Linked DNA regions of Homo sapiens: all the other regions are linked to region 1. The links are contacts of gene promoters, found by promoter capture Hi-C in blood cells and fetal thymus (Javierre and others, 2016). All regions are on one chromosome and are shown on one strand. The core of a region is centred on a gene start or on the middle of the fragment in contact, and the rest is flanking DNA. Distances in the headings are between cores, read along the strand shown. Region 1 holds the start of ATP2B3 (ATPase plasma membrane Ca2+ transporting 3). Region 2 has its middle 29 kb from the start of PNMA3. Region 3 has its middle 18 kb from the start of PNMA5.

Region 1 (4,292 bases), core at 993-3,492:
CTGCCCACACATGTCTGCTAAGAGGTGCTTGTCTTCAGCCGGGACCCAACCCTTGCCCAAGGGATGCTCCTGCTGGGGGCCACGAAAGGAGGCCAGCTCAGCAGCCTGCTTCTGCCTTTGCTCACTCCAGAGCAGGGCCCTTGGGCCTGGGATGGAAGGACATGACCCCAGGGAGCCTGCCACAGTGTGGGAGGCCAAGAAGGAACGTGGCCTGAATGCGCTGGGGAAAGGAGCTCCTCTGCCCTCCTGTGGTGCCTGAGGGCATGGGGGCAGCTGGCCTCCCGGCCAGGGGCCAAAGTCCAGCTTACAACCTGCTCCGGGTGGGATCCAGTGCCCTCTGGGCCTCCACTTCCCCATCTGGAATGTGGGCTAGTAAGAGGAACGACTCCAAGATGGCAGGGCTCTGGCGAAATGGCCAGAACTTAGCTCATGATAAGTTTCCAGCATCATTGGGGCTTGCTTCAGTCTTGATTTTTCCCATTCGGGGCCATGGGAAGTCACAGGCTGTGTGTGTGTGAGAAGGGGGTGTCCCCATGGCGGCTCTGGGCCCGGAGGAGCACACGCCCCAGGCTCAGGAAAAGCTGCCTCAGAGTTGGAGTGGAAGGGGACTGCGGGAGTGTGCAAATGAATATGTGTGAGAGTGTGAGTGGGGAGTGTGTGTGTGAGTGTGACTGTGAGTAACTGTGTGTGAGTGTGTGTGTATGTATGTGCCCATGTGTGTGCTCACTGGGTAAGTGTGTGAGTTGTGTAGGTGTGAGAGCATGTAAATATGTGTGAACCATTGTGTAACTGTGTGGGCCACCGAGCTTGTGTGGGTGAGGGTGAGTGAGCACATATGACTGTGAGGATGTGTCTGCGTGAGATTGTGAGTGTGTGCATGAGTGTGTGAGTGTGTGTTTGTGTAAGTAGGTGAGTGAGCATGAGTTCATGCATATGAGCAGGTGTGAGTATGTGTGCGTGCATGTGAGTGGGTGTGAGTAAGCATGTGTGAGCGCACACATGACCAGGTGTATGAGTGTGTGTGTGCGTGCGTGCGCGAACCTCAGCTTTCCACGGCACCAGCTGCTTCCTGTGGAAGGGAGGGGCAGTCTGTGGGGGTTGTGACGGTTCCCTGGTCTCAGGGGCAGCAGAAGCTTTCTGTCCTTTTGGTCCCTAGCACAGTGGTGCCTCCTCAAAGAGGCCTTCCCTGAGCCGCCAGCAGCCTCTTTCATGGCTCCCCATCAATGGGGTTCCATAGCTCCGACCCCAGCGGCGTGAGCACATTTGCCATCCGACGGCCACTCCCTGCTTTGTGGTCCCTGCTGTGTCCCCAGTATTCAGCTCTGGTCTGGCACACAGCATGTCCAGGGCCCTCTTTGTCCAAGGCAAGAAAGAATTTGAGGCTGCGTCCAGGCCTCTTGCACCTGCCTCAGGCTCCCGCCCAGAGCCTCTACCTGTGCCCCAGCGAGCATTCTCTGCTCGCTGCTCAGAATGCTCGCAAAGGCCGGCCCTGGGGTCAGAGGCCTCCACAGCCCCTGGAGCTGGGAAGCCTGGGGGTCCACCGGCAGGCACGGGGGTCTCTTTCCAGGTAGGTGGGAACGCGTGCTTGTGGGTGTGGACAGGTGTCTGCACTGGGGTTTGTCTGTGTGTCTGTCTCCACTCACACCGGGGATGTATGTGCCCCTGCGTGTCTGTCTCTGGTGCCCACCTGTGTGCAGTCTCTGTGTTCTGCCTAACGGTGGTGTTCCCGTGATAACCGACGGTGAGGATCTCCGGTAAGCGCCGCTTCCTCTGGGAAGACGCATTTGGACGCCCGTACTCTCAACAGGTAATGGAGTTTGCAGGAGACCACCAATGCCTTGGAGTCCACTGAGGCAAGACCCAAGGACCCCACGCTACACATCAGCCACCCGGCTCTGTGCCCCATTTTACTGTTGGGGAGACGCACCTAGAGGGCAGGGTCTGGAGAGGTAGTGGCAGCCTCAGTCGCAAGCTCAGGGTGCTCTCTCTGCACTCACAGGTGCCATGGTCCCCCAGTTTCCATCCCCACCCACCCCCACTCGGCCAGTGCCCTTTGGGGGCAATGCCAGGCCAGGAAGGGCGGGCACCCTCGCGCGTCCTGGGGACAGAAGGGCGCGCACCGGGCGCGTAGCTCCTGAGCCCCGAGGCCCCTGCGCCGCGCACCGCCCCCCGCGCCCGCTCCCTCCTCCCTCCCTCCTCCTCACCCAGCTCCCTCCCCTCCCCCCTCCCTCCCTCCGCGCTCAGAGCTGCGGTTGGAGCCGAGCGCGCCGCGTCGCCCGCCGCCGGTGCAGAGCGTGGGGAGCACTCGGCCGCAGCCCTCGCCCGCCGCAGAGGGTCGCGTCCCGCGCCGCCGGCCAGGCCGCCCCGTGCCCAGGCCTTTCCATCCTTGGAGCGGATCGTTGCCCGCCTGACGCCCGCCCGCAGCGACAGCGCCCGCCGGAGCCGAGGCCGCGGCGGCGGCCGTGCCCATGCCCGGGTAAGTGGTGCTCTGGGCGCGCGGGCGCCGCCGGGGTGGGCGCGGGCGCGGCGCGGGCACAAGGCGCGGGTGGGGATGGGAGGATGACCCGGCAGGTGGTGCGGCGGCAGGTAGGGGGACACGGGTCCCCGCCCGAGGCACCTGAGCCCCGCGCCGGGCCTGCGTGTCCTTGCGGCACTGCGGCCGCGCGTCACCCCGGGGCCCCAGGCCGGCGGGCAGCGCCCCGCACCCTGCACCCTGCGCCCCGCATCGCGCGCGCACGCGCATCCGTGTCTGAGGAACAAGGCCCTTGGGGGCTGCGGGCCGGGGCTCAGGGTGGGCGCAGCCGGGGGCGCGGGATCTGGGCCGGGAGCCCGCCAGTGCGCACGCACCTTCCCGGAGCCTCGGGCACCCCCTCCCCCCCGCGCCCTCACACTGTATCATCCTTCCCCTCTCGCCTTCCCGCACCGTTCCCCGCACGCCCACGCGGCTGCCCAGCAGACCCCACCGCGGTCATGGGCAGTGCCCACGAGAAGCCGCCCGGGGCCGCACTTAGGTAACTTCTCCATCCCTCCAGGAACGGCTGTCTCCCCCTCCTCGCCTGTGTGACCTTGGCCAGCCAGCTTTTCCTGTGGCCGCCTGCGTTTTCTCACGGGTGAAAGCTCTGGCTTTAAGATTCTGGAATTTGGAATGGCAGGTGCGGCATCTCCCAGAGCCTGAGACGATGGGCTTCTCTCTCTGTGACCTGGTGTCCTTCCTTCTGCTGGCCCTTCTGGGGGTTGGTGGCTCAGCCAGCCGGCTGAGGAGGGGTGGGAGGCAGGGCAGGGGCATGGCGCCGGGGCAGGTCAGGACTGGAGGGAGTCTTGGAGAGCCCGCGGTGAGGGCTCCATGAGGGTTTAGGAGAGACTGTGGAAATGCTCCTTCGCTCACTCAAGGGGCAGGGAAGGGACCAGAATTCCTCAACGAGATGCTTGCCATTTCCTGGCGAGGTCATATAACTTTCAAAGATGAAGCCCAGGGCCTCCGACCTCAAAGGAGTCCCTGCCTGCTAAAGGATCAAGTCCAGCCTGTCCCCAACTGGCCCCCATCCTGAATTCCACTGGCACCCTAAACGTCAGCCGACTTCCCCTGGCTGACTTGGGCACCAGTCTGGCAGGCACCCCCTGCACCTCCTCCCCTCCTTTGCCCACTAGGATCTGTGCCCTCACCCCCTGCCATTGCCCCTCACTAGTCAGTGACCATCTTAAGGCAAGGACTGGCTCTTCATTTGCACAGGCCTGGCACAGAGTGGGCACCTGGTTTCTGCATGGCATATTCATGACCTTGACCTCACTGAATCTGCAGACTCACTGAACAGGAGAGGCAAGGCCTGGATTTTTGTCCCCATTTTTCAGATGGGATCATTGAGGCCCCCAAGAGGAGAAGGGATTCAGCCCTGAATTGAGGCCCCTTCCTTCATGAGCAGATGGCTAGGGACATTCCTATGAACCTGGTGGGGCAGGGAGGCGGGGAGAGGTTATCGTAATAATCAAAGACCAGCCCCACTTCCTGAGCTCCATCTGAGTCTCACCTCAACCACACGAGTGAATGGCTGTTTTCATCCCCAACCCCCACCCCCCGCCGCCACTTTTCACAGATGAGGAAACCGAAGCCATGTGGCTCATTAAAGGGGCACTGGGATGCCGAGGAGAGGGCTGGGGATGCCTGGGCCCCTGTGGGACACAGCTGAGACCCAGCAGAGGGTCCCAGGGTGAGGTCAGCCCCTCAAGTCTGCGCCATCGGAACGGGCTGGGAACTTGTGGTCCCCGGCCATTGATTGTCACTGCTGCAGGCCCCG
Region 2 (4,081 bases), core at 1,518-4,017, 490 kb before region 1:
GTGCCGGCCATAGGTGCAATAATTGCTGGGATAAAGACAGTTAATGACTGTGTGGCCTGGGTAGACACATTGGAATCTGTAGGAGCCCCAAATGCATACCTAGTTCTCCCCATCAATGGATTCTCCTAATGAGTTTTTTTTCTGAGTGCGTGGTGACAGAAGTAATATGGCAGGCTGGGGTGAGACAGAGAGAGAGAGAGAGAGAGAGAGAATCAATCTTGTATTTAGGCCCCAAAGTTCTGCTTGACTCTAGCAACTGGAGGAAGCAGCCTTTAACACAAATCCTATCTTCAGGGTGTTTGAAATCTAATACTAATACTAACTAAAGATGTATGCAAGCCATGGTACAGCTCGAATTCTGATTGGATTGAAGTTATATACCTCAGGGAAACTATAGTACCTAACCAAGGAAAGAGTGTACTCTAATCCCTATGGTTCTTTGAAGCACAATGCCTGACATGCAACTTTTAAAAACCCAGAACATGTGAAGTAACAGGGAAATGTGACCCATGATCGACAGTAATTGGCATGTCATCACTTCTCTCATGTTCCATTTTCCAAAGCAAGTCTCTAGGCCAGCCTAGATTCCAGAGGTAGGGAAACTGACTCTAACTTGTGATAGAAGGAGTTTTGAAATCATATTACAAATGGAGAACCAGGGACATTAAAAAATCAATCCCAACACTTTGGGAGGTCAAGGCAGGCCAATCACGAGGTCAGGAGATCGAGACCATCCTGACTAACACGGTGAAAACCTGTCTCTACTAAAAATGCAAAAAATTAGCTAGGCGTGGTGGCACGCACCTGTAGTCCCAGCTACTCGGGAGGCTGAGGCAGGAGAATCGCTTGAACCCAGGAGGCGGAGCTTGCAGTGAGCCGAAATCACGCCACTGCACTCCAGCCTGGGTGACAGAGCAAGACTCCATCTCTCTCTCTCTCTCTCCCTCCCTCTCTCCCTCTCTCTCTCTACTCTCTCTCTCTCTCTCTATATATATATAGAGAGAGATTTATATATATATTTTTATATACGTATATATATGTGTGTGTATATATATGTGTATATATATGTGTATATGTGTGTATATGTATATGTATATATATGTGTGTATATATATGTGTATATATATGTGTATATGTGTGTATATGTATATGTATATATATGTGTGTATATATATGTGTATATATATGTGTATATGTGTGTATATGTATATGTATATATGTGTGTATATATATATAAATCTACTACAAGAGTTCACAGGCAAGTCCCTCACCTACACTTTGTCACATGTGGTCTGCTTCTGCCCCTCGTACCCTTACTCTCTTACTCTTCCTGTTGTTCCTATTGGTGGCTGGGGAAGTGACGTGAGGGCAGTGGTGCCTGTGCAGCAGTGCTCAAGGATGCATCAAGGGTTCACTCTCAGGAAACTCCCAAAGCTGCTGGCCAGATGGGTAGCCAGTCCTAGACATGGCAGAGACTGGCTGAGTTTCCCAAATGCCTCTCTTGACCAAGGCCTGCAGAAACAGAAAGTCATATTTTCACATTGGCCAATCCTTGCATTCCTCAGGAAAATGGTTCCAATGTTCCCACTCACATCCTGCTTTTTCTCAGAGCTCAGACCTGGGACCACTGAGCTGGCTGCCACAACCAGCCTCCAATACCCACACCATTCTTGGCCACACCACCCTTTTTCATTCCTGTGCCCTTGTGGTTATTTACTGAAGGCTTACCGTGTGTCTAATAGAAGGTAAAGCTCCATGACTCCCCTGCAAGAAAAATGTTCTTATTGCTCATTTACAGATGAGAAACAGAGATGTTCAGTGGTTTGTGCAAAGCCACCCAGCTGCTAGGTGAAGCCAGCTTTGCCTGCTTCCAAAGGCCGTACACACTCTTTCCAATGCAATGGCTTCCTAGGTGGTGAAGGCTGGCTTTGTAGCCTAAGAACTATGATGAGGCTCTTGAGTCAGGAACAGCTAGCCTCTTCCTGTTGTGGAGATTCCTGCAATGAGGAGGTAGGCCTGTGAATGTAGTGATTTGGGGGACCTAGTCTGGAGTCCTAGTACCTGGCTGTCCACCAACTCCCAGCTTCCAGACGCTGCCCCTAAGCATAAGCTTCCTCTCTGCCAGTTTCCAATCCCCTTTCTCTCTCAACACTTCCACTAGGCCATTTTGATGGTTGGGCCTGTTGCCCCCGGAGGCACATCAAGCCCTTACCGCGCAGGTCCCGATCCCAGGGCAACACGGATGCCTCCCCCTGTTTAGCTATTTGCCTCCCACAGAGACTCTGAGATTTTTCTCCCTCATCTATCTGAGGCTTCTGGGAGAAGTTGGAAGCCCACGTGCCCTTAGTACAGCTGGCCTGAGATATCCCTGCCCTGTGCAGTCCCAGATGGGCTGCTGGGGCGCGATCTTCCACCTTCCCATTCCAGGGCCTCAAGGCGGCCTCCAGAGTGGGCTCCACAGCCTGAAGGTGGCATTTCCCCGTGGGTGGTTGCAGTGTCTGCAGACAGTGAGCAGGCACCAGCGGGACCCCAGAGTGGCTGAGGGCACACTGGGCAGGAGCCAGATCGCTGTCCCCCCAGGCAGTAGGTGCGACAGCGGGTCCTGGTCTGGAGCCTGAGGAGAGGGGAGGAGGGTCTCCTTGCTGCAGGAGTCTGGGTGGGGTGAGCTCCTGGCTGCAGGGCACCTCTGGCTACAGAAGGGGACGATGGGAGAGAGAGGGGCTCTGGCTGTGGGGGAAGGGGACTCCTGGCTGCTGATGTGGGAGGCGTGGGAGGGGGTTGCCAGGTTGCAGGGAGGATGGCATTAGGGAGAGGGCTCCTGGTCAAGTGCTGGGAAAAAGAGGAGGTGGGCACATCCAGCTGCAGGGTTGCACATGATGGTTGGAGGGGCTCCAGCTGTAAGTTTTGTGATCAGGGGCTGTTCACCAGGTGAAAGAGGCGCTTCCTGCTGTGGAGGTGGGGGGTGCAGTGAAGGACTCTGAGCTGCAGCAGTAGGGGTGGGGGAGCATGGGCTGTGACACTGGGCAGGGGAGATGCTTCAGGCCCTGCATTTGGGAGTGGCTGGTCTCTGGCTGTGCGGTGGGGGTGGGCTGACTGGCAGCAACGTCCCTCTCTCCCCTTTGCACTCACAGGCTGCGTCAGAGACTGCAACAGTCAGCACACATTCCTGTCTGATCAGGCTCCCTCCCTCAAGTCCTCTGCGATGGCTCTGGCGATGCTTCGGGACTGGTGCAGGAGGATGGGTGTGAACGCAGAGCGCTCTCTGCTCATCCTGGATATCCCTGACGACTGCGAGGAACATGAGTTCCAGGAGGCCGTGCGGGCTGCCCTGTCGCCCCTGGGCAGGTACCGAGTGCTCATCAAGGTCTTCAGAAAGGAGCTCGGGGCCAGGGCAGCCTTGGTGGAATTCGCTGAGGGTTTAAACCAAAGCTTGATTCCCCGCCAAATAGCAGGCAAAGGGGGACCCTGGAAAGTGATCTCCCTGCCCCAGGCCCTTGATGCTGAGTTTCAGGATATACCCAGTTTCCCTGCATAGCCCCAGGGGCAAGCAGTGGCCAGAGGTGCAGGTGAGGCAGGAGCTGCAGGTGAGGCAGGATCTGTAGGTGAGGCAGGAGGTGTGAATGAGGAAAGATCTGCAGGTGAGGCAGGAGCTGCAGGTGAGGAAGAAGAGGCAGGTGATGGAGGAGCTGCAGGTGCAGCAGGAGCCATAGGTGAAACAGGAGCTGTGGGTAAGGGTGAGGCAGAAGCCACAGGTGAGGGAGGATCTGCAAGTGAGGCAGAAGGTGCAGGTGAGGGAGGAGCTGGAGATGAGTTGAGAGTTGCAGAAGAGGCAAGAGAGTCAGATGAGGGAGCCGCAGGTGATACAGGACCTGCAGGTGAGGCAGGAGCTGTGGGTGAGGCAGGAGCTGTGGGTGAGGCAGGAGCTGCGGGTGAGGCAGGAGCTGTGGGTGAGGCAAGAGGGACAAATGTAACAAGAGCCTGGGTCCAGCCTCGGCGCTGCACCCTGCAGGCTGTGCTGGAAAACAGGGCCTACCAGGAACTGAGACCCTTTTCAGGGAGGGAGCAGCCAGGCTGCGAGGAA
Region 3 (3,805 bases), core at 51-2,550, 510 kb before region 1:
TAAATGAAGGCAAGTTTATTAGAAAAGTAAAAGAATAAAAGAATTGCTACTCCACAGACAGAGCAGCCCCAAGGGCTGCTGGTTGCTCATTTTTATGGTTATTTCTTGATGATATGCTAAACAAGGAGTGAATTATTCATGCCTCCCCTTTTTAGACCATATAGGGTAACTTCCTGACATCACCATGGCATTTGTAAACTGTCATGGCGCTGGCAGGAGTGTAGCAGTGAGAATGACCAGAAGTCACTCTCATCACCATCTTGTTTTTGGTGGGTTTGGGCCAGCTTCTTTACTGCAACCTGTTTTATCAGCAAGGTCTTTATGACCTGTATCTTGTGCTGACCTCCTGTCTCATCCTGTGACTTAGAATGTTTAACCATCTGGGAATGCAGCCCAGTAGGTCTCAGCCTCATTTTACCCAGCCCCTATTCAAGATGGAGTTGTTTTGGTTCAAATGCCTCTGACATTTCCCTGCTCCCTTTTACAAGAGAACCCTTAATCCTAAGGGTTGCAAAGGGATGAAAATCCATCTTCTGTAACTTCTTTATGCTGAACAGGGGAGATGATATTCCTACCTAACTACTGGGTCTCTTGCATTCAGGGTAGAGAGGAGTTCGGTTAGAAAGTGTCGGTATGTTGAAGGCCATTCATAACTCTTGAGTTTCAACAAAAGGTGATATCTGGAAGATTAATAAGTGTTCAGTTTAGGGAAACATTCAGTAAGCTTGTCCTGCATTCCTACACAAAGACTATAACAGCAATATATTCAACAACAGGAAAGCAAAATAAGTAAAATTATCTCTAGTAAATTAAATTAGAAAAGGCTTTCCATGAACTGGACAATTGTTGGAACCAAGTTGATATGGGGTTGCTAGCCCATCCCAATATGTGCCCAGAATTAGAATACAGATCCAGATTTTTACATCACCCATCCCTCTTCTTTCTTCTGAATAGCAGTCAGAGGTCACTGGTTTGTTCACAGGAATAAGCAGGGTTAGTCTAAATTGAAGAAAAAAGTCCCAGAACAACTGATGAGACTAGAATCTATTAACATGTGTACCACAGTGTTCGAAAGAGTTTTTCTATCTCCAGTCTCCCATTTTTATTAAAAACAAATCATGGTAAGACCAATTTACTTTCTTATACTTGGCCTGATCATTCATATAAAGTGCAGCAAGAATAATTATTTTTAAATTAGCTTTGATGGAACTCTGTTCCATCGAAAGAATCTCAGATAAGACTTTTTTTCCATTTTTTTTTGACAGAGTCTCGCTCTGTCACCCAGGCTGGAGTGCAGTGGCATGATCTTGGCTCACTGCAACCTCCCCTCCCGGGTTCAAGCAATTCTCCGCCTCAGCCTCCCAAGTAGCTGGGATTACAGGTGCCTGCCACCACACCCAGCTAATTTTTTGTATTTTTAGTAGAGATGGGGTTTCACCATCTTGGCCAGGCAGGTCTTGAACTCCTGACCCCGTGATCTACCCGCCTCCGCCTCTGCCTCCAAAAGTGCTGGGATTATAGGCGTGAGCCCTGAAGACTTTTTTTTTTTTTAAAGCCAAGCCCAGCTGTGGGTTTATACTCTCAAATACTTACGAGTTGGGTAAATTCCTCTTCTCTTGAGGTCCTAAGATAACTGGGGGCACCTGGGCCTGTGAGAAAGTGACATGCTTTACTTACCACGGGTCAGGAACCCTGTACAGGGACTGTATAGACAACCTATGAGGCCAGTTTTCCCAAGGGGCTTTTATTGGCTCTATAAGTCAAGTTTTTTTCCTTAAAGGAAAGCACCCTATTCTCGTCAAAGCCTTGGTAAAATAACCAGTTTCCCCATATGCTCCAAATTGTGTTCATAGGTGTATACTTTACTTAATTGTTAAAAGCTTTAAATAGCTCAAAAGTTTCCTTGACTCTGGAAAACAAAACAAAGGATCAGCAACATTTTAAGCAAACAGCCAAGATTACTTCAAACTTCTATTAGCGCAATACATGCAGTTAGCTCCTGTCCTGTTTGATATTCATGAACATTTCAGCTGTCCATGAGTCCTGAAAGTTTTTCCTCTATCTGAATGTCACACTCTCCAAAGTTATCAGAAAACCTGCATTTAATAACACTTGTTAGGGTTCTATAGGTGATTATAAAACCACCTTCTGAAGAGTATTAAAACAAGATAACAATTGTCTGTGGATGACAAAATTTTAGGACAGCCACTATTAAAGCCACAATGGACAAAAAAATTTTGATTACCTCTGTGGTATACAACAATTTTACATAGCAATTATAACTATTGATAACACACACTAAGTTATATCAGAATTATAGGAGCTTCCATAATTTTGGAATACATGCCAATAACATATTTATACAAACACAGCCCAAAGAAGGCCAAACACCATTTCATATTTGACAATGCTTCCTGTATGACTTTTATACCAAATAAGCCAAAAGTCACTTTTGGACTTTAGGTGACCTAATATCTAAAAGATTAATTAGGTCAGAAAAAGACATATTTTATAATTTGATTTTGGGAAGCTTGTCAAATATCAAAGGTTTAAAACACTAGATATCACAAAATAGAATCCCAGGTGACCATAAGTCATTCATTTTGCCAAAATAATAACTTAAAAAATTTTTAAAAGGCAAAACCCCTTACTCATGAAGAGGGAAGACCTAGCTTTCCAAACAATGTCTCTTTTCTTTCCCCTCTTTTCCTGTAGTTTATTTAAAAGGCAAACAAAAATCTTTCATTATTTTTTAATAAAACATGAAAATCCTGTTCAAGAGAGAAAGCCACATTTCACCCTTTCCATTAATGCACTATTGATGTTAAACCCAATTCTTAATAAAACCTTATACACAAATCTATCCAATTTTAAAGTCTCATCATAAAGTAAGATTCTTATAAACCCTTGAAAAATTTTTGTTAAAGAGCAGATGAGTGCTTTATGAAAAGCCTGTTGTGCTTTTATTCCAATGTTCAATTTACAGAAAAACTGAATACCCTTTAATGTTAGCCAATATGTTCACACACAGAATTTCTTTTACAAGATTAATTTTTCACAAACCTTCCACAACTTGCTCAAATCTTCAGCTTTTTCCTACCTAACTTAAAACAATCCTTTAACCTTCTAAAAAAAATCCACATTCTCATGCCTTCTTTTAATCTTTTACCAAAAACACATTTCACTTTCCTTACACACCTTGCTTGTAAAACTGTTTTTATTTCCCCAAAATTACTAAAGTAATGTGAACTAAAAGGCATTATGCTTTTTATTTTTCTGATAAAATATTTAAGCACTATTTTTAAGCCAATTAATCAAAGCTCTTTCATAAACATCACACACACAACACATATAAATACACAGACAGAAGAATAACCAGTAGTTGTTAAGATTTTTCATTTGCCAGTTTCTTAAGTTTCTTTTAAAAGATGCAGTTTGTAGGGCCTATTAAGCAGGCACAGCTGAAAGGCAAAAACAGATTCCCCAAAATTAAGGTCCCATTTTTATACCAGATCCTGGATCCCAAAAAGAGGGAATTAGCCCATCTCCCATGGGACCCTTATCTCTCAGTGGGGGAATATCTCCATACCTTCCAGGTGGCCAGGAGCATGCTTTTCTAATCCAAACATGCAAAGAGCCACATATTGCCTCATGACTGCCATTAGCCATCCATAAAAGTATATTTCCTACCTTGTTATTACACAGCAAAGCTCTCTTATAATGTGAAGTAATTTCTGATACCTCAAAAAGTAAAAAACGTCAGATAATGCAATGCAAAACAGAACAGAACCTTAGATTTGGAAAG

Evidence for each region. The method cuts DNA at HindIII sites, captures the fragments that hold promoters and counts their contacts. A CHiCAGO score of 5 or more calls a contact.
Region 2: a fragment that was not itself captured here is called in contact with the fragment with the promoter of ATP2B3 in region 1 in 1 of 17 cell types (naive CD4 T cells); the score reaches 5.3 in naive CD4 T cells.
Region 3: a fragment that was not itself captured here is called in contact with the fragment with the promoter of ATP2B3 in region 1 in 4 of 17 cell types (M1 macrophages, total B cells, M0 macrophages and 1 more); the score reaches 8.5 in M1 macrophages.

The regions. Positions count from the first base shown.
Region 1 is chrX:153,515,400-153,519,691 of GRCh38, forward strand. It overlaps ATP2B3 (ATPase plasma membrane Ca2+ transporting 3), which reads left to right and starts at 2,243. Exons shown (of 22, transcript NM_001001344.3): 1 at 2,243-2,476; 2 at 3,033-3,152. The HindIII fragment of the contact is 7,787 bases long and covers 1,132-4,292 here.
Region 2 is chrX:153,025,583-153,029,663 of GRCh38, forward strand. It overlaps the pseudogene LOC112268308. Among named protein-coding and RNA genes, the nearest start is that of PNMA3, 29 kb to the right of the region's middle. The HindIII fragment of the contact is 1,319 bases long and covers 2,109-3,427 here.
Region 3 is chrX:153,010,206-153,014,010 of GRCh38, forward strand. No RefSeq gene overlaps it. Among named protein-coding and RNA genes, the nearest start is that of PNMA5, 18 kb to the left of the region's middle. The HindIII fragment of the contact is 1,156 bases long and covers 723-1,878 here.